7 separate regions of the Homo sapiens genome follow, and all the other regions are linked to region 1. The links are contacts of gene promoters, found by promoter capture Hi-C in blood cells and fetal thymus (Javierre and others, 2016). All regions are on one chromosome and are shown on one strand. Each heading gives the region's core, a stretch centred on a gene start or on the middle of the fragment in contact. The rest is flanking DNA. Distances are from core to core; before and after follow the strand shown.

Evidence for each region. Contacts are between HindIII fragments. The CHiCAGO score rates a contact against its expected background, and 5 or more counts as called.
Region 2: a contact is called between the fragment with the promoter of NARS2 here and the fragment with the promoter of THRSP in region 1, in 17 of 17 cell types (naive CD8 T cells, neutrophils, activated CD4 T cells and 14 more). The highest score is 30.3, in naive CD8 T cells.
Region 3: a contact is called between a fragment that was not itself captured here and the fragment with the promoter of THRSP in region 1, in 3 of 17 cell types (neutrophils, monocytes and naive CD4 T cells). The highest score is 5.7, in neutrophils.
Region 4: a fragment that was not itself captured here is called in contact with the fragment with the promoter of THRSP in region 1 in 14 of 17 cell types (neutrophils, activated CD4 T cells, naive CD4 T cells and 11 more); the score reaches 9.1 in neutrophils.
Region 5: the fragment with the promoter of CLNS1A here is called in contact with the fragment with the promoter of THRSP in region 1 in 10 of 17 cell types (non-activated CD4 T cells, total CD8 T cells, activated CD4 T cells and 7 more); the score reaches 10.2 in non-activated CD4 T cells.
Region 6: a fragment that was not itself captured here is called in contact with the fragment with the promoter of THRSP in region 1 in 2 of 17 cell types (activated CD4 T cells and neutrophils); the score reaches 5.7 in activated CD4 T cells.
Region 7: a contact is called between a fragment that was not itself captured here and the fragment with the promoter of THRSP in region 1, in 1 of 17 cell types (endothelial precursors). The highest score is 5.6, in endothelial precursors.

The regions. Positions count from the first base shown.
Region 1 is chr11:78,062,382-78,065,301 of GRCh38, forward strand. It overlaps THRSP (thyroid hormone responsive), which reads left to right and starts at 1,480. Exons shown (of 2, transcript NM_003251.4): 1 at 1,480-1,960. The coding sequence starts at 1,501. The coding sequence ends at 1,941. The region is part of intron 1 of NDUFC2-KCTD14 (NDUFC2-KCTD14 readthrough); the gene reads right to left. The HindIII fragment of the contact is 4,485 bases long and covers 1,225-2,920 here.
Region 2 is chr11:78,573,356-78,576,275 of GRCh38, forward strand. It overlaps NARS2 (asparaginyl-tRNA synthetase 2, mitochondrial), which reads right to left and starts at 1,509. Exons shown (of 14, transcript NM_024678.6): 1 at 993-1,509. The coding sequence starts at 1,133. RefSeq lists enhancers at 895-1,004, 1,665-1,804. The HindIII fragment of the contact is 10,208 bases long and covers 1-2,920 here.
Region 3 is chr11:78,542,195-78,545,114 of GRCh38, forward strand. All of the region lies in intron 5 of NARS2 (asparaginyl-tRNA synthetase 2, mitochondrial), which reads right to left. All of the region lies in intron 1 of NARS2-AS1 (NARS2 antisense RNA 1), which reads left to right. Among named protein-coding and RNA genes, the nearest start is that of NARS2-AS1, 10 kb to the left of the region's middle. The HindIII fragment of the contact is 4,377 bases long and covers 1-2,920 here.
Region 4 is chr11:78,525,827-78,528,746 of GRCh38, forward strand. The region is part of intron 6 of NARS2 (asparaginyl-tRNA synthetase 2, mitochondrial); the gene reads right to left. Among named protein-coding and RNA genes, the nearest start is that of NARS2-AS1, 5.9 kb to the right of the region's middle. The HindIII fragment of the contact is 2,418 bases long and covers 462-2,879 here.
Region 5 is chr11:77,636,426-77,639,345 of GRCh38, forward strand. CLNS1A (chloride nucleotide-sensitive channel 1A) reads right to left here and starts at 1,369. Exons shown (of 7, transcript NM_001293.3): 1 at 1,165-1,369. The coding sequence starts at 1,289. RefSeq lists enhancers at 1,097-1,616, 1,271-1,510. The HindIII fragment of the contact is 10,516 bases long and covers 1-2,920 here.
Region 6 is chr11:78,473,806-78,476,725 of GRCh38, forward strand. All of the region lies in intron 9 of NARS2 (asparaginyl-tRNA synthetase 2, mitochondrial), which reads right to left. The region is part of intron 1 of LOC105369403 (a long non-coding RNA gene); the gene reads left to right. Among named protein-coding and RNA genes, the nearest start is that of LINC02728, 45 kb to the left of the region's middle. The HindIII fragment of the contact is 8,270 bases long and covers 1-2,920 here.
Region 7 is chr11:77,656,088-77,659,007 of GRCh38, forward strand. No RefSeq gene overlaps it. Among named protein-coding and RNA genes, the nearest start is that of CLNS1A, 20 kb to the left of the region's middle. The HindIII fragment of the contact is 4,015 bases long and covers 1-2,920 here.

The DNA.
Region 1 (2,920 bases), core at 230-2,729:
ATCTCGGCTCACTGCAAGCTCCACCTTCTGAGTTCACGCCATTCTACTGCCTCAGCCTCCCGAGTAGCCGGGACTGCAGGCGCCCACCACCACGCCCGGCTTATTTTTTGTATTTTTAGTAGAGACAGGGTTTCACCACGTTAGCCAAGATGGTCTCGATCTCCTGACCTCGTGATCCACCCGCCTGGGCTTCCCAAAGTGCTGGGATTACAGGCGTGAGCCACTGCGCCCGGCCATTTTCTTAAATATCTAATAAAAAATATATAGCAAATGCAGTTTGTAAACTATGACAATATGACCACGCAAAAGATTATTATCTTCCAAGACTGCTGGTCCAAGGAAAGGTCAGTAATAAAGTGGAAGCATTGTAGCTTATGGAATGACTGGTTAGATTTGGGAGAAGCCTTAGCAATAATCTAGAATCTGCATAGATAATACATCTGAGGATTGGGCTTTGTGGTTTACAAAGCATTTTTTTTCCTCTTTTGATCCCAGCCGCTTGTCTGGACTGATACAAAGCATTTTTATTAGTTTGTCTTATTCAATCCTCACACCACCTCAAATTTACAGAGGATATGGATCTGGTTAACTTGTATGACTATGTAACCTCATGTCAGTCCACAGCACTGCCTGGAGGTGGGTAGAGGTGGTCCTGGGCTGGAATCCCAGCCCCAGTGGGACCTTGAGCAAGTTACTTTAGCTGTCTGCACCTAAATTTCCTCACTGGCAAAACAGGAATACTGGTGGTTCACACCTGCAATTCCAGCACTTTGGGAGGCTGAGGTGGGAGGATTGCTTGAGTCCAGAAGTTCAAAACCAGACTGGGCAACATAGCAAGACCATCTCTACAAAAATTAAATAAATAAAACATTTACAAGGGTTGTGGTGAAGATTAAATGAGATCACTCACGAAAAAGCTCAGCAGACCCTGATGTGCAGTAGGTGCTCAATAAATGTTAGCCAGCAAAAAACAAACAAAAAAAAACTCAGCTAGGAAATTGCAGTACTGGGCTTCTGACTCCAACCTCAGTGTTCCTTGCCCCACATCAAGCTGTTTCACTTCAAATCCTCTCCATTTCACAATGGAGTCACCCCAGGTTGAAGGAGTGAACTGTGCTTTGGAGGGCTGCCCTAAGCAGGCAGCAAAGAGACAGCTTGGTCTCCAGTGACCTGAAAGAATTATTTATTGCCCTGAAGTCCAGTATACCAGTTGCCAAAGGGAAAAGCTTCCTTCCAACTGGCTCAGCAAGCTGACAGAGGAAGAGTCGGGTTCTTGCTGGGGCAGTCATGCAGAGCTGGGATGACAAGTAGAAGGCTGGCAGATCTGTCTCTGGGCAGATGGATCACCTGATACAGATGCTGGGGCCTGAGCCCTGGGATTGGCCCAAAACAGGGCTGTGTTGACCCAACAGCTGGGCATTGGCATCCTGTCAATCTGCCGAGAGCCTAGAAATAGTGCGGGGGCAGTCTGCTGGTCTCATTGTGTCAGAGGAAGCAACCATGCAGGTGCTAACCAAGCGTTACCCCAAGAACTGCCTGCTGACCGTCATGGACCGGTATGCAGCCGAGGTGCACAACATGGAGCAGGTGGTGATGATCCCCAGCCTTCTGCGGGACGTGCAGCTGAGTGGGCCTGGGGGCCAGGCCCAGGCTGAGGCCCCTGATCTCTACACCTACTTCACCATGCTCAAGGCCATCTGTGTGGATGTGGACCATGGGCTGCTGCCGCGGGAGGAGTGGCAGGCCAAGGTGGCAGGCAGCGAAGAGAATGGAACCGCAGAGACAGAGGAAGTCGAGGACGAGAGTGCCTCAGGAGAGCTGGACCTGGAAGCCCAGTTCCACCTGCACTTCTCCAGCCTCCATCACATCCTCATGCACCTCACCGAGAAAGCCCAGGAGGTGACAAGGAAATACCAGGAAATGACGGGACAAGTTTGGTAGACCTTGGACACTAGGGAAGGTAATGGTGGCCATGCTGGTGGGTGTGAGTCTACAAAGGGACATTCCAGGAGAGGAGAGGGGGCAGTGGTGCAACCCACTGGGAGAGGAACAGCCTGACTTTCAGACAGAGCCACTCTTGGGTCAGGGTATTGGGACCACAACCTAGGAGGGCCTAAGACTAGGCCTGTGTTACTATCCTTCTGACCTCAAATTGGCAATTGCAATGAAGTGATATGGAAACAGAGGGAAAAGTGGCCTGTGAGGGCATATCTCATATGCACATATATGTGTTTGTGCATGTGTGCATTTATTAGTATGTGAATGCTTGTAAATGTGTGAATTGAATGAGTGTGTTCTCATCAGTGACTTTGTTAAGAATTTAATTGAAGAGGGGCCAGGCGCGGTGGCTCACACCAAAGCACTTTGGGAGGCCGAGGCGGGCGGATCATGAGGCCAGGAGATTGAGACCATCCTGGCTAACATGGTGAAACCCAATCTCTACTAAAAATACAAAAAATTAGCTGGGCGTGGTGGTGGGTGCCTGTAGTCCCAGCTACTCGGGAGGCTGAGGCAGGAGAATGGCATGAACCTGGGAGGCAGAGGTTGCAGTGAGCTGAGATTGTGCCACTGCACTCCAGCCTAGGTGACAGAGGGAGACTCCATCTCAAAAAAAAAAAAAAAACTTACCTAAGGCATGCACATTGATTTAAGTGAACATTGTGAATTCCATTTGTGTGACAGTGTTTCCCAACATTTTTTCAAGTCACAGAACATGGAAAATTATTATATGGCACATGGGGATACATAGGTGAGGCTGCTTGCAGTACTGCTACAACAGGCTGGGGGTACTCTGACCATCCCAGGTTGGAACCCACCAAACGGGAAGCCGAGGGACCAGTCATGGCACTCTAATCCATTCCAGGCAAACTGGAGTATGCAGACATGCCTGTTGGGAAGCCCTGTTGTATGTACATATGAA
Region 2 (2,920 bases), core at 259-2,758, 510 kb after region 1:
GTGAGACTCATCTTCACAAAAAACTTAAAAAATTATAGAGTGTGGTGGTGCATGCCTATAGTTTCAGCTACTCTGGAGGCCGAGGCAGGAGGATTGCTTGAGCCTGGGAGATGGAGGTTGTAGTCATCTGAGATCACATCACTGCGCTCCAGTCTGGGTGACAGAGCTAGACCCTGTCTCAAAAAATAAATAACCACATCAGTGTACTTCAGCAACCTAATAAGAAACAGTCAAACACCTTGTTTATTCTGCACCTCTTCTATGTGGAGCTGCTGCAAATAATATAATCAGCAAGAGAAACAATAGCAGCTAACATTTGTAGACTATGAGCCACTGTTCTAAATATCTTACTTCCATTACCTCATTTAATTTTCAGGACTCAGGGACAATTATTATCTCTTTCCATAAGAGGAAAATAAGGTGTAGAACGCATAAACGCTATGCAGAGATTTAAACCTAAGCAGCTTAACTCCAGAGCTCTTTCAAACTGCTACATTCCAGTCTTTCTCCGAATTCATTAAAAATAAATTACATGCAGACCCCCACAATAGGCACTGAGGTCGCTAAAAGTTTAAAAGGCATGGTTTGAACAAGTATTTGCTGTCAGCCATGTGTGAATACAAAGGCAGGTAAGACACGGTTTCTGCTCTCAAGGAGGGAGGTCAAGACAACCACTTTATAAACCTGGATATTCATTATAAGGGATAAAGATAGAGAAAGGGGGCTTGTTCATTTACACTTTTGGTATGATTAACAAGTTTACAGGTAATACCCTGGAATCATGAAAGCAAAGTTCCAGCGCTTTACAGTTATCGGAACAGTTTTGTGAAAAGTAATGGAAATCAGAAAAGTGCAAACCCGCGACGCCTACACTTTCTAACTTTTCCCTGCTGGCGGTTGTGTCTGACCCGACTGTAAAAGAAAAGCTAGATGTGGATGTGCCATATAAAAGTCCCTACAAGAAAAAACCCACTCCCTTCCCATTCACCAACCTGGATCTTAATGCGCTCCCCACTCGCGTTCTGAGCCCCGAGAGCGTCCCGCACGCTCAGTTTGGCTGAAGGTTTGTGCTTGGGGAAGGGGGCGGAGGAACAGAAGCGCACGGACCGCAGCAGGCAGCGGACCCCCAGCATCCCGCGTCCGCCCAGGCCCTCCGCGGGAGCAGCCCAGACCCCACGGTTCGAACCCCGCCTGCAGCGGCCCTCCTTTCTCAGCTGCTCCCCTTCCGCGGCCGCAGCTCTGCTCTAAGGCACTCCAGAGCCCCTCGGCTGCGCGCTTTCTCCTTCAGGACTCCCAGCTCTGTCCCCACAGAACCTCTCCGCTTCCCACTTCCCAACGGGGCGGAATGGACAGGACACTAGGCAAACGCCAGAAAGAAACCACGTGCAGTTGGCAGCTGGGGCGCCCCACTACCCGCGACAATTGTAAACCTACGAACAGAACCCGGGCCGCAACACGCGCAACCACTCCTACCACACCACGCCAACGCCGCTTACGTCATCACGCTACGGGGAAGAAGGGAGAGCATGCGTACTTGTGACCCAGGCTTAGGGAGGCGTGCGGGAGGGGGCGGGGTCAGGAGCCGAGACGGGGCGGAGCTAATGCCCTAAGGTTGTAGAGATTATCGCTGAAAGAACGTGGGAGCACATCTGAGGGTCTTCATTTCTAAAGTTTCCAGGTGAGGCTGAGAAACTGAGAGGCAAGGAGTGACTGATGGAGAGGGAAACCGTCTCCATCAGTCAACAATAGGGATCCAAGTAAGAGGAGGCTCTTAGCTGTTAACAGGATTCGCTTGAAGAGATCAGTCGTTCCTTTCCTGAGTACTCCGCAGAGAAAAATCAGACATAGCCCCAATGCGCAAGTCACAGTTGTGTGGTATCAGACAGCTAAACAGACAGTTGCATAAAAGGGCGATCAGTTTGCCTGACAGAGCCTAAGCGTGGGACGCCAGAGATGGCTTCCTGGAGAAAGTAGTCCTCTGACAGGTAAATAAAAGGAACTGGAGGGACCTTGCATATGGCAGGCAAGACGGTGGGAAGATGTTGCAGAGACTGGAGGAAACTCGAGTGTTTCCTGCCAGAATCCTCCAAGTCTCCCTCTTCCCTCTGCCCTCCAACACAGCTATCTGCATTTGTTTGACCTGGAAACAATGACCCTTTTATATATTAGGCTACGTTTTATTAAAAAAAAAATTCTGTAACTCAATGACGGTCATTAAAAGGTTTTTAATCTAATTTAAAAAGTAAAACGTTTGGCCAAGTGCGGTGGCTCACGCCTGTAATCCCAACTCTTAGGGAGGCAGAAGCAGGAGGATTGCTTCAGCCCAGGAGTTCAAGACCAGCGCTCGCCCTCGCTGTCTCTCTCCCGCTCCCTCTCACTCTCACTCTCTCTCTCTCACTTTTACCTTACTTAAAGTTGCTACTATTATTATACCCATTTTACAAATGAGAGAACTTACGCACAGAAAGGCTAGATGACCTACTTAAGGATACACATTCCCTAAGTGTGAGATTTAAACCCAGAAGTGCTGGCTCTATGCACTTAAGCAGTATGCTGTATTACATAGTGTCCCAAGGTGATCTGTTCCATCAAGGAGCTCATGCTTTAGAGATGGAGACAAGCAAGAAAAGAGACTACTGAAATATAAACCAGTAAGTGCACACATAGATGTATGAGTTGTCTGCATTTGTTTGGACTGAAAAGTCACCCTTATATATTAGGCTACCTCTTAAATTTATCCAAAAAATTATTTTTGATATTTTATCCAAATATTATATTGGATAAAATATAATACAATTATAATATATACATGTATCACAATTTTATATTTTATATAATATAAATGTGTTCCCTGGTTCTTTTAATAAATTAAAATTATAAATATAATAAAATTATAATTATAAATTATAATATATAATTA
Region 3 (2,920 bases), core at 236-2,735, 480 kb after region 1:
GGAAGTTATTAAGTCAGACTGTTTGTAAACAGTGTTTTCCTGCTGAGCAGTCTGAGAAAGAATGAATCAAGAAAAGACGCGTGGAGTCTAATATTAGAGGGTAAGGTTGAGGCAAAACAGAAAGTGAATATACAATGCTGCCTTATTTTTCTTTTACAGGAGATAAACACAAATGTAAAATTGCAAAACAGCAAACTTATTCCTAAATGTAAAGGGGTCGGTGAAAAATGAACCAAACTTTTTTTCACTATTGCTTGAAAAATATTAATTTTGGCTTATTCATTGTCAGATTGGGGCTTTAAGGATGAATATGATAAGATATGGTCCTAGTCCGTTAACTAGGACTTCTGTGAGAAGGGATACCTATGCTCCAGAGTTAAGTCTCCAAACCACGTATCCACACAAAGGACTTGACTACCACTAAACACAGCAGGTACTCAATAAATACTTATAAATCCCAGCACTTCGGTGGGGTGGAGGCAGGAGGATTGCTTGAGACCAGGAGTTCAAGACCAGCCTGAGCAACATAGTGAGACCCTGACTCTACTTTAAAAATTAGCTGGGTGTGGTGGTGCGCACCTGTAGTTTTAGTAACTCTAGAGGCTGGAGTGGGTGGATCACTTGAGCTCAGGAGGTCAAGGCTGCAGACAGCCATGATCGCTGGCTCATCACTGCACTCCCAACAGGGCGACAGAGCGAGACCTTGGGTCAAAACAAACCCCCCCACAAAATATACTTTCTTGCAGTTGCTGCAAGGAGGAAGTTAAGTTATTGATAACTGGAACAGAAGGGCTTGGTTGCCCTTTACCTCTGGCTGTGGTAATCAAGAGTAAGTTAGCCAAGTACGGTGGTGGGTGCCTGTAATCCCAGCCACTAGGGAGGCTGAGGCACAAGAACTGCTTGAACCCAGGAGGCAGAGGTTGCAGTGGGCTGAGATGGTGCCACTGCACTCTAGCCTGGGCAACAGAGCAAAACTACGTGTCAAAAAAAAAGAATAAGCCATTATAAAGCATACTCATATAAAAGTCACGATTTTGATGCTATCCAAAGATTATCCAAAAGGGATTCACATCATTTTTTGAGATCAAAGTGTCTCTTGAAGTCAACAATGCCATGGAATGCTTCCTTCAAAGATGGCATGCATAAAATAAATGTCTAATTTCCAACAAAAACCAATTTCCCCTAATAATTAGATGGTATTGGCCCTAAAGAGTATAAACTCAAAAAACTTTCCAGTGTTTATGAAGCTGACATTTTCTTTTCATTTATGATTACTTGAATTCTAATGTCCAGACTAGCAACATGAAAGTTCATGTTTTTTAAAAAGAAGAAACGCTACTTTTCTACTTTTAATTAGCAATGGAAATAACCATTTGTAGGAAAAAAAATAATTCTCTCTATATTAAAAGTTCAAAAGTCTAGCAGAGGTGAACTATTCAACATAATCACTTCTGGGAAAATACACAGCAGGAATAGATACAACAAAAACAAAAAACATGTACCCTGGTACCAAGATCCAAGATGCATAAGCTACTTTCTAAATATATCCAGAATCCGGCCAGGCAGAGAGGCTCATGGCTGTAATCCTAGCACTTTGGGAGGCCAAGGCGGGCAGACCACGAGGTCAAGAGATTGAGACCATCCTGGCCGACATGGTGAAAACCCGTCTCTACTAAAACTACAAAAATTAGCTGGGCGTGGTGGCGCGCACCTGTAGTCCCAGCTACTCGGGAGGCTGAGGCAGGAGAATCGCTTGAACCCGGGAGGTGGAGCCAAGATTGTGCCACTGCACTCTAGCCTGGCAACAGAGTAAGACTCTGTCTCAAAAAAAAAAAAAAAAAAAAAACTCTCTCTCACTCTCCAGAATCCAACCACATTTGAGGATGTACAATTTCAACTCCTGTGTAAATCACTATCTGTCCACCTAAAATACAGCATTAGACTTTTAACTGGTTTCTCTTCTTCTGTACCTCTCCCTGATTTAATCTCCATATAGCAGCCAGAATGATCTCATTAAAATATAAGTGATTTATTACTCCTTTGCTTATAACTCTCCAAAGACTCACAGCCAATATTCTTATAATGGCCTAAAAAGTCCTTTTTAGAGGGAATGTTTCTGGTTGTCATAACTGGGGAGAGCTACTGAAATTTAGTGGGTACTACCCCAAGTTTCAAATATGCAATGGAACATTCATGTTAGTGAATTAGGTAAATTGTATTATTTTAATATGCTCTGAATTTTCCAGAATGCATCTTCCATGTAAATCAAGGGAAAGCTAATACTTTCATGCGGAACTCTTATCAAGAATGAGTTACCGGCTGAGCGCAGTAGCTCATGCCTGTAATCCCAGCACTTGGGAGACTGAGGCAGGCAGATCACTTGAGGTCAGGAGATCGAGACCATCCTGGCTAACACGGTGAAACCCCGTCTCTACTAAAAATACAAAAAATTAGCCAGGCGCGGTGGTGGGTGCCTGTAGTCCCAGCTACTCGGGAGGCTGAGGCAGGAGAACGGCGTGAACCTGGGAGACGGAGTTTGCAGTAAGCCAAGATCGTGCCACTGCACTCCAGCCTGGGCGATAGAGCGAGACTCCGTCTCACAAAAAAAAAAAAAAAAAAAAAAAGGATACAGAAAATTAGCTGCGCGTGGTGGTGGGCACCTGTAATCCCAGCTACTCAGGAGGCTGAGGCAGAAGAATTGCTTGAACACGGGAGGCAGAGGTTGCAGTGAGGTGAGATCGCGCCACTGCACTCCAGTATTCTCATCACAAATAGCAAACTGTTCATGATATGTGAGTCACCAATATAACACACCTGTTTAAGTCCTAATTTATAGTGGTCAAAGTCAGCAGTTCTTTATATCTCTATATAAAGGCTACTTACATTCTTCTAGACCACAGTATTTACATAATAAAATACA
Region 4 (2,920 bases), core at 421-2,920, 460 kb after region 1:
ATATCACGTATCCACTGATACAATGTGACGGGACAAGCCTTCGCCTCTGTGGTATTCTTTCAAAATACCCAAATAACCCTAGTCTAATCATGAGAAAAATGTCAGACACACCCAGATTAGAGTACATTCCACAGGTCGTAAAAAAGAAAAATTGAGAAACTGTAATAGAATGGAAGAGACTGGGGAAACATGACAACTAAGTTTTATGTGGTACCCTGAATTGGATCCTGGAAAAAGAATAAGGGTATTGATGGAAAAGCTGGTGAAATCCAAATAAAGTCTAGAGCTTCATTAATAGTAATGTGATAACATTTAATTCTTGGTTTTGACAAATGTATCATGGTCATGGAAGATGTTTACAATGGGGGAAACTGGATAGAGAATACACAAAACTATGCATTATCTTTTCAACTTTCTATATATTAAAAATTATTCCAACATAGAATATTTACTTTAAAAAAAGCTTTAAAATGGAACCATAAACCCACTAAAGCAACAGAGATATCCTTTTGGAAAATGTTAACTGTCTAAATTTAACTACCATTTTCTCCATTTTAAAAGTCTGTTAATACTCTGGTTTCTCTTCAGATTGCATAAATCTTTTGCCTTTTACAAAGTCTGTTAAATTGAATTCAAGAAAAAACAAAGCTGAGGGAAAAAGGACTAACAATTTCTTATTGGAGAATAAATCATACTTTAATCAAAAACATTATGTTCTGCATATTAATAGTCCTAGAACTGTGCATATTAAACTAGGAACATTTGAATGACAGTAGTACAAATACTTCATGGCACACTAAAAAATACAAAACCTAGTATTCTACCAATTTAATCTTCCGTCAAGTTTCACAGAACACTGTGTTCTGTGGTTCACTGCGCTTTACTGGGAAAGAGGCATATTTAATACACTAGTGGTATTATAATAGAGAAACAAACATTTGCTAAGTTTATATATTTCACATATGACACTTCTGAGGGATGAGACACCTTGCTTCTAACTTTATAAATAATAGAAATGAATACTAAAAGGCTGTTAAGAAAGGTTATCCAAACCTTGAATATAAGGCCAAAAGCTGTAGCCTTAAAAAGGTGATGTCCTTTCAAGGTATTACACAATGAGGGGACAAAGGCCCATTCGACGATTACTTAATTACTTAGGGAAAGGGAAATGTACTTGTTCCATTAGTCTATTTAATATTGAATTAAATAACCCGTATTAAGTGAAGTTACACGCTAATTTACAGATCTTTCCCAGCAGAGTTGCAAATAACTCTACCAGGTAGAAGAGATAATCCCAAAGTTTAGGGTGTGTTGGTCCTGTAGGACATTAACCAGTTTATAACTGACCTAGCACTCTTATTCCAACTATTAAAATGTCTATAAATACAGAGGTCTTCAGATGCTCTTTGAAACAGTTTTCTATTTTACTTGTTTCCTCTGTAATATAATCAACTGAATGAAAACTTTGATACAAATTCATTTTGTATTTGAATGAGTCATGTTTTTAATTTTTTTAAATTATAATTCCGTAGGCATAAGAACATTCCATGACAGGCTTGACACGGCCTTTCCTACATCCAGATCTGCAAATCCTATAATCTCACCATGTTATTATGACACTTTTTCTGCATAGTATTCTGCTAATATTGCCAGTCATTTGGTTATTGGAACTATCAAATAACATATTTTTGTTTCAAAGATAAATCAGAAAAGAACATGTTACTTTCAAGACCATCTTTATTCCACCACTGACTTTCCATTCTTCTAGCAAAGTACAAAAGTAAATATGCAAACTATTCTATTACATTTTCCTTGAGTTTTCTCATCTGTGCATTTTTAAAACAATGGAAAACACCAAAAGATTCCCTTCCTTTCAAGTGAGCTATTTCCAGAAAAGATTTTTTTAAGTCCTAATCTCTATAATGAGAAAATATTTAAAGAAAAAGATACATAAAGAAAACTCAGTACTTGATGAGTCTGCATTAACAAATTACCCCCAGAGGCCAGGCTCAGTGGCTCCTGCTTGTAATCCCAGTGCTTTGGGAGGCTGAGGCGGAAGAACCACTTGAGTCAAGAGTTTGAGACCAGCCTAGGACACATGGTGAGAACCCACCTCTACAAAAAATTTTAAAAATTAGCTAAGTGTGCTGGCACATGCCTTGAGTTCCAGTTACTTGGGAGGCCTAAGGCAGGAAGATCACTTGAGCCTAGAGTTTGAGATCAGCCTTGGTACATAGCAAGACCCCATCTCTACAAACAATTAGCCAGGTTTGGTGGTATATACCTGTAGTCCCAGCTACTCAGAAGGCTGAGGCAGGAGAATCACTTGAGCCCAGGAGTTTGTGAGCTATGACTGTGCAACTACACTCCAGCCTGGGCAATAAGCGAGATCCCACCTCTAAAAAAAATAAAAATAAATGGGAATTACCCACAGAATTACAGAATATAAGATTTAGACAGGATTTTAAAGGTCTTCTTTCTCAATCCCGTTTTAAAGAAAAGGTAGGCCCCAAGGAATACAGTGACTTTCCAGAGGTCTGACAGTTGCTAAAATTCATTTGATCTGACTTAAAAGATGTAATTTGCTGTACACCTCTCAAAATGTAGGTATGAGTTAATTTTATTTAAACCAATTACTGAAAAAAAAATTATTCCGTCTGTTTCAAATACTACTCTCTTTAAAATGAAATAGACTAATACCCGGTTCAGGTATAAACTATAAATTGCCTTTACTTCCATAAATATGATTAATTTAAATAAATTCTGATTACATGTTTGGGATTCAAGCAAGAAAAATTAGTAAAAAGAAAAAAATGACAACTTTGTATTTTCAGTGTTACATTTTTCACTAAAAACAAAAGTCTGTACTACAAGTAAGAAGCTTAAATATTTTGGAAAATTCAAGTGAACTAATGATAAA
Region 5 (2,920 bases), core at 119-2,618, 430 kb before region 1:
TCTCACCTCAATCTTGCTTTTCCTCCCATCCATATGTCCTATCTCAGTTTCTGGCCTGAAGCCTAAACCTTGTTCAATGTCTAAATTTCCCTTTAAAGCAGAGGTTCTTTACAGTTTTTGTGCTCTGGATTCTGTAGTAGGCAGAATTTTGGCCCCACGACCTTCACTTTCTGGTGTCATGCGGGTGAATATGTTATATTACACAGCAAAAGGGACTTCACAAACGTAATTAAGGTTACCAGTCGACAGTAACATAGGGAGATTATCCTGGATTTTACAGGTGGTTCCAAAGTAATCACATGAGCTCTTAAAAGTAGAGAATTTTCTCTGGCTGTAGACAAGTGATGGAGCAAAAGGGGAAGCAACACATATCTGAAGGGCAGGAAAGATTCGATGTGTCATTACAGGCTTCAAAATAAAGAAAACTGCATGTCAAGGAAACAGGGACCTCTGTTCTACAACCACAATATTTACGGTAGATCTATCTGACTGTCAAAATACCAAAGTGCTCCACGTGGCCAAATAAAAGGGCAATTCCTTCCAGGACCCCAAAACGGGAGTCTGGTCCCTCTGCATATGACCCCTGTCTGTGTCGAGTTAAGGGTGTTCCTCTCCTTACTATACCTACAGAAGAAAATCTTTATTGTGTAACCAAACTTTAAAAGTCCTCCACAGTCGGCTCTGAAACTACGTATCCCAGAGAGGGGAACATCTCCTGCATCTGTTCATCCGGAAAGACAGGCACACTTCAGACCCTTAAAACCAGACCGTGCGTTAAGGGCAACGCACGCGCCAGACCTCCAGTAAATAGGCGAGTTAAAAAAAAAAAAAAAAGAAAATAAAAGAAAGAAAGAAAGAAAAGAAGAAGAAAGAAAGAGAGAAAGAGACAGAGAAAGAGAAAGAGGAAAAAAAGAAAAAAAAAAAAAAAAAGCACAATCCATAAGGGGAAATTCCGGCCGGAGAAAACAGAGAATGGAAGACTCCGGAGGAGTACTAGAAAAATCGAGCCTTCCACCCGCTACAGGTATCCCTGAGGCGTCGGGCACGAGACCCCGCTCCCAGCAGGCCTCCAGGCCGCCCCTTGCCCGGCTCCTTCGCACCGCCTGCTCCAGCAAGGAGGAGGGCGGCGCGCAGGAGGCCAGCGCTGGGGACCAGGAACCCTACCTCTCAGCGATGTAAAGGGTACCAGTGCCGAGGCCCTTCCCGTTCAGCACAGCCTCAGTGTCTGGCTGCTGCCGCAGGAGCCCCTCCGCTGGCCCAGGCGGCGGGAAACTTTTGAGGAAGCTCATAGCAGCAGAGTGCGGCAACACAGGCCCTGAGGGAGTTGGAGCACAGCAATGCGTGCACCACACCGCCCGCCCTGGAAGAGGCAGTCACCCCGGAAGAACAACTTAGTCTGCCCCGGAATCTGAACGCCGTCGACCATAGAGATGAGACATTCTAGGAAAAGCGGCGGAGGTCGGCTAAGAACGTGTGGAGTTTGACCGCGCAACACCCTTCCCCTTCTTCCTCGCCATTTCTGAGGCTTTGGGCTTCAATAACTGAGGGTTCTGTGGGAAGTCCCTCAGGATTGTCACAGTGAAACCACCACTGCAAAATTATAACTGAGACACTGAAAGCGATCTGACCTACCCAAATCCATGTTGTTTCTAACCTCCAAACTGTCCTTGTTCATTGCTGGATATAGGCTGAACTAACTTTGGGAGGAACTTAGTTTACAGTTTGAAGTTTAAAACAAAGATGATGACAGCCTTTTCCCAAAACAAACTTCCTTCTTGCCTGGGGACTGGACTGCCTTTGTAGGACTAACAAATCAGCCACAAGATTAGAAATTATGGTTTAGATTAGAAATTACAGCTGCAAGCTACAAGATTCTGACCCTCCCTAAACTGCACCTAAGATCGGTGCTTGAGATATGTTGCAGACCCTGCACTTGATGGATCAGCTGGCACCACCAGATGGATAAACTGGCTATGTGATCTTGTGCCCCCTCCCCACCAACCCAGGAACTGACTCAGCGCAAGAGGACAGCTTCAACTCCCTGTGACTTCATCTCCCACCCAACCAATCAGCACTCTTGACTCACTGGCCTTCCCCAACCTGCCAAATTATCCTTAAAAACTTGGATCCCTGGCTGGGCGCGGTGGCTCACGCCTGTAATCCCAGCACTTTGGGAGGCCGAGGCGGGCGGATCACGAGGTCAGGAGATCAAGACCATTCTGGCTAACATGGTGAAACCCCGTCTCTACTAAAAATACAAAAAAATTAGCCGGGTGTGGTGGCAGGCGCCTGTGGTCCCAGCTACTGGGGAGGCTGAGGCAGGAGAATGGCGTGAACCCGGGAGGCAGAGCTTGCAGTGAGCCGAGATAGCGCCACTGCACTCCAGCCTGGGCGACAGAGCGAGACCCCGTCTCAAAAAAAAAAAAAAAACAACAAAAAACAAAAAACAAAAAAACTTTGATCCCTGAATGCTCTGGGAAACTGATTTGAGTAAAAATAAAACTCTAGGCCGGGTGCAGTGGCTCATGCTTGTAATCCCAGCACTTTGGGAGGCCGAGGCGGGCAGATCACGAGGACAGGAGATCGAGACCAGCCTGGCTAACACGGTGAAACCCCGTCTCGACTAAAAATACAAAAACAAAATTAGCCGGGCGTGGTGGCAGGTGCCTGTAGTCCCAGCTACTCGGGAGGTTGAAGCGGGAGAATGGCGTGAACCCGAGAGGCGGAGCTTGCAGTGAGCCGAGGTCGCGCCTTGGCACTCCAGCCTGGGCGACAGAGAGAGACTCCGTCTCAAAACAACAACAACAAACTCTAGTCTCCTGCACAGCAGCTCTGCGTGAATTACTGTTTTTCTGTTACAATTTCCATCTTGATAAATCAGCTCTGTCTAGGCAACAGGCAAGGTGAACCCATTGGGCCA
Region 6 (2,920 bases), core at 377-2,876, 410 kb after region 1:
TCATTAAGGGTGTAGTCCTTGACCAGTTCTAGCTTTGTGTGTATATCTGTGCATGCATTTCAGGGGATATCTTGATTCTAATTCATTCTGCTACGTCTATTCTCATGTCATCTCATTGCTGTTAAAATCTCTGGTTTCAAAAACTGGAAAATCGCCCTCCAGCTTCCCTACCCTACACCCTGAGAATCCTCAGCATCACACCAACTGTCCATATCACTCTGGTGTTTGGTTCCTTCTTCATTTCTAGCACCTGGAACTTCTCCTACTTTCTAGTGAATTCAACAACGTATTTAAAAGAATCTTATAATATTTTAAGTATTATTTTTAGATGTTTTGCAGAAAGAGTGTTTTCAAATTACCTAGTCTGACATATTGCTTTTAACAGTATTGTCATTAAATCCTTTCAACAATATAAGGCAGAGTATTTTTTTATAGATGAGGAAACTGAAGTTCAGAAAAGTTAAAGATTCACTATTAATCAAGTTCATAGTCGTAATTACATTATTCATATAAATATTTAACTGTTCATCTTTTTCTCTAGATTTTCAACTCCATAAAAAAATAAATCAATGTTTGTTTTCATTATTCTCAAGAACTAGCAAAGTGCCTAACTCATATTAGGCAGTCAATAAATATTTGTTAAAAAATAATAATTTACTCATTAATGGCTAGTAAATGGTAGGGCCAGGATTAGAATCCAGGTTTTCTGAATCATGGTTCACTACCCTCAGTGACTGAAATAAATAGTGATATTAGCCAATAAGAAACCTCAGGAGAGGATCCAGCCTAAAGAATACCTTTACAGCCACAGTTACTCAAGTCACTTGTTTGTCCACTCAATTACTCAGTATTTACTGAGTTCCTGTTAAAGGCACTGGGCTAAGTCCTGGGGGTATAAGAGTAAGCAATTTAAACATAGCCTCTGACATCACAGAGGTAGTAGATACCAATCAAATAATCACACATATACATTTATTTAAAAATGTCTGAATTTTTAATTGACAAATATTTTATGTATTTACAGGATACAATGTGTTTTTGGTATTATACACTGTGGGATGAATATATCAAGGTAATTAACATATCTATCGTCTCACATGCTTCACTTTTTTTTTTGCAGTGAGAAGATTTAAAATCTACTCCTTTAGCAATTTTGAGATATACATTACAATTAATTATGGTCACTTTGTTATGCAATAAATCCTGAACACTTATTCCTCTGGTCTAACTGAAACTTTGTACCCCTTGGACAATTTCTTTCCATTCCCTTCAAGAACCCCTCACCGGCCACTGGTAACTACCATTCTACTCACTACTTCTGTAGTGTTAACTTTATTACATTTCACATCAAAGTGAATCATGCAGTATTTGTCTTTCTGTGCCTAGCTTCTTTCACTTAGCATTAAGTCTTCCAGGTTGATCCATGCTGTCACAAATAAGATTTCCTTTGAATAGTATTCCACTGTGTATATATATACACATTTACTTTATCCAGTCACCTACTGATGGACACTTAGGTTGATTCCATATCTTGGCTACTATGAATAGTGCTGCAAAGAACATGTAAGTGCAGATATCTCTTTGACATACTGACTTCAGTTCTGCATATGTACCCAGAGGTAGGATGGCTGAATCATATGGTAAATATACTTTTGGTTTTTTGAGAAACCTCCCATACTATCCTCCATAATAGCTCTACTAATTTACATTGCCACTAACAGTTATAAAAGGGTTCCCAAGCGCCACATCTTTGCCAACACCTGTTATCATTTGACTTTTTTTTTTTTTTTTTTTTTTTTTTTTTTGAGACAAGGTCTTGCTCTGTCTCCCAGGCTGGAGTGCAGCAGCGTCTGTGATCATAGCTCACTGAAAACTCAACCTCCTGGGCTTAGGCAATCCTCCCACCTTAGTCTCCTGAGTAGCTGGCACTACAGGCACATGTCACCACACCTGACTAATTTATTTATTTATTTTTTGTAGAGACAGGGTCTCACTAAGTTGGCCAGGGTGGTCCTGAACTCCTGGGTTCAAGTGATCCTCCCACCTCAGCCTCCCAAAGTGCTGAGACTACAGGCATGAGCCAACGTGTCTCATTCTACTTTTTGATAACAGCCATTCTAACAGGTGTGAGTGGTTATCTCAGTGCGGTTTTAATTTGCATTTTATTGATTAGTGATGTTGGACACTTTTTGATAAACCTATTGGCCATCTGTATCTTACACAAATGTAAAACATTTGTGATGTCTGCCTGCCTGAGCAAAGCATGGGGGTGGATGCTGAGGCTAGGTGGGGTGGCTGCCCTGTAGGGGCTCAAACCAGATAGACTTTCCTACTGAGCTTCTGCAGCAACCAGCTAGGCTTTGTAAATGGGCTATGCCACTGGCTGGTATCTCTGATCAGGTGCTACTGCTGGCAGGAACACAGCTATGACTAAGATCCGTGTACTGGTTGCTGTGAGCACTGCCCCACTCCTTTGTTCCTACTTGACCCCTGGTAGTCTAGGCCTTACCCCCAGGGTTCCCTGTGAGACAGGAATGGGCCTCCTAGGAAGCATCACAGAATGCTGGGGAAACTGGATAGCTGTCTCTTTTTCCACTGCATTAACTGTGTGCCAAGGGGAATCTTCTGTGTGTGGTATTGTGCCTACTTAGGGAAGGGAGGATTCAGTCAAACTGAGACCATTGCTCCTACCCTTCTAATGCACTTTTTGCTCTGTGGTCCATCTGCGTGTCTCAATTTCATTCCCAAATTTTGGGATTTTCAAAAAGGTGTTCTTGTATGTGACTAGTTGCCAAATGGACTTTCTGTGGTGAAGGCTGGGACCCTCTATTCATCATCTTGCTGATGTCCCTCTCCCCACAAATTTAAACTGCAACTATGATTTGTAGTATGCAGAATGGATTATGACAATGACAATGAT
Region 7 (2,920 bases), core at 274-2,773, 410 kb before region 1:
TAAAAGACATTAGATCCGTAAGGGCTATACAGTGTGATTCCATTTATATGAAATGTCAAGAAGAGGCACATTTGTAGAGATAGAAAGTAATAGTACTTGGCAGGGACTACGGAGGAAATAGGTAGTCACTACTAATGAGTAGGGCGTTTTTAGGGTGTTGACAACCTTGTGAATATGCTTGATGAGGCAGGAGAATAGGGTCTGGAGGCAGGGAACCTAAGGCCATTTCACATCACTTCTTAGAACCAAGTTGAAAAGAAAACTCATAACTTTCCACAGCCTAAGTAACAAAAGGACCAGAGGCTACTACTCCCTTTGCAAACCCCCCACCTTTTCTGCTGGGCAGTTGGGAAACTGGCTGCCTGAAACCAATCAGACTGTTTGCCGGCCGGTCTTCGTTTGCAACTTTCTAACTTTACCTTAGCCTCTGATTGGTTGCAAAAAGAGGAGAGTGAGCGTTGTACCCTCCACTTCAGTCTTTGATTGGTTGCTTTCCACAACCAATCAGACCGATTGAGAGCTACCACTTCATTTACATGAGGTGAGCAGGAAGTGGCCAATGGAAAACCTCTAGGGGGTACTTGGACCTGAGAAGATTCTGTATCCGGGCCCTTGAGTCGCTGCTTCTCCAGCTTCCACACTGTGGAGTGTACTTTCATTTTCAATAAATCCCTGCTTTCCTTCTTTTGTTACTTCATTCTTTCTTTGCTTTGCTGGGTGTTTTGTCCAATTCTTTGTTCAAAGCGCCAAGAACCTGGACAACTTGCAGTCAAGACCCTCTACCAGTAACACTAAAGACCTCTGAATTGTACACTTTATAATGGTGAACTTTATGGTATGTGAATTATCTCAATAAAAAACAAGAAACTTTTATAAATAAAACTTACAAGTTCTTTTGGACATCGTTATGTAAGCACATCCAGATTATTAAAAGTGGCTGTCCGCCGGGTGCGGTGGCTCACGCCTGTAATCCCAGCACTTTGGGAGGCCGAGGTAGGAGGATCGCAAGGTCAGGAGATCGAGACCATCCTGGCTAACACAATGAAACTCTGTCTCTACTAAAAATACAAAAAATTAGCTGGGCGTGGTGGTGCACGCCTGTAGTCCCAGATACTCGGGAGACTGAGGCAGGAGAATCACTTGAACCCGGGAGGTGGAGGTTGCAGTGAGCCGAGATCGAGTCACTGCACTCCAGCCTGGGCGACACAGTGAGACTCCATCTCAAAAAAAAAAAAAGATGGCTATGTCAAAAAGGGGACAGTCATCTTAAAGACGGCTTCTTAGCATTCCATCTCCCTTCTCTGATATACTTTTCCTGCTTGTGGATCCTTGTCTTTCTTTTCCTTTTTTTTTTTTTTTTGAGATGGAGTCTCGCTCTGTTGCTCAGGCTGTAGTGACCACTCATCATCATCACTTATGACCTCAAGTAATCCTCCCATCTCAGCCTCCCAAAGTGCTGGGATTACAGGCATGAGCCACTGCACCCAAGAGATCCTTGCCTTTCATCCTGGGCTCTCTGGCCCTCTCCTGGTTCTGCTCAGAGCATTGGCCAGTAAAATTCCAGCCCTACTTCTGCATTATTCTGAATCTGAAGCCAACTTTCTGATTTTCTATTAGGTTGGTGCAAAACTAATTGTTGGGCCAGACGCGGTGGCTCACGCCTGTAATCCCAGCATTTTGGAAGGCCCAGGCAGGTGGATCACCTGAGGTCAGGAGTTCCAGACCAGCCTGGCCAACATGGCGAAACCCAGTCTCTACTAAAAATACAAAGAAATCAGCTGGGCATGTTGGCACACATGCCTGTAATCCCAGCTATTCGGCAGGCTGCGGCAGGAGAACCCCTTGAACTGGGAGGCGGAGGTTGCAGTGAGCCGAGATCACACCACTGCACTCCAGCCTGGGCGACAGAGCGAGATTCTGTCTCAAAAAAAAAAAAAAAAAAAAAAAAAAAAAAAAATTGTGGTTTTTGCCTTTAAAAAAAATAGATATATGTATATTATATACAGCAGAAACTGCAATTACTTTTGCACCAACCTAATAGCATTGAGCCAGCTACCTCTCTTTGTTGTTGCTACAGAAAATCTTTTATGGTTGAAGCTAGGACAGTACAGGTTCAAATAAGGTTCTATCATCATTAATGAAGTACTTCCTCTAACTTTTTGGTTCTAAATGGTAGAGTAAGAGCTATTTGGTTATGTGAGTTCACAGTGCAATTACTGGTGTCCCACTAGCAAGCAATAATGTCAAAGAGAAAACAAAATGCACATTACATTCAACAGACAAACATGAAGCAAGTACAGGGAAAAGGGAGGAATCACATTCCTGTTTTAAGTTTCAGCTTTCTGTAACAGCTGTTCCTGATAATAAAGTATGTTGCTGAGATGGTGGTTTGTTTCCTGGAGTTTCTCTTAGGAATTTCTGACATTTCAGTAATAATTTCCAAATACACTTTAGGGTTTTCCATAGTCTATTTATTTTAAAGACTGGAAGTTAAATAAGAAGTAACTGGGAAGGGTATTGAACCAGAGACAGGATCAAACTTTCATTTTCCACAATAGGGAGAACTTTATTTAGAGAGGAGTGTGTGTCAAGTAATGGAGATCAGAGATAGAAAAGTAAGATGTGAAAGACCCAGAGGCGGTAATAAAAAGACGACCGATCAAGGACACAGGCAGACAAGGTACTGCAAAAAGAAGATACCTCCTCAGAGACAGGACTAGGGAGAAAGATAGGTGCTCAAATGTGGGTAAAGTGGCTCTGAAATGGGCAAGGAGGAGTGATAAGGAAGCCATAGGTGGCCGATATCAATACTAGTAGGTTCCCAGCTGTCTTCAGTTGGGATTTGACTGTATATGCTACATTGCAATGTCAAGTTACATCCTCTTAGAGTGTCCTTTCTCTTTGATATTCATTTAGACTT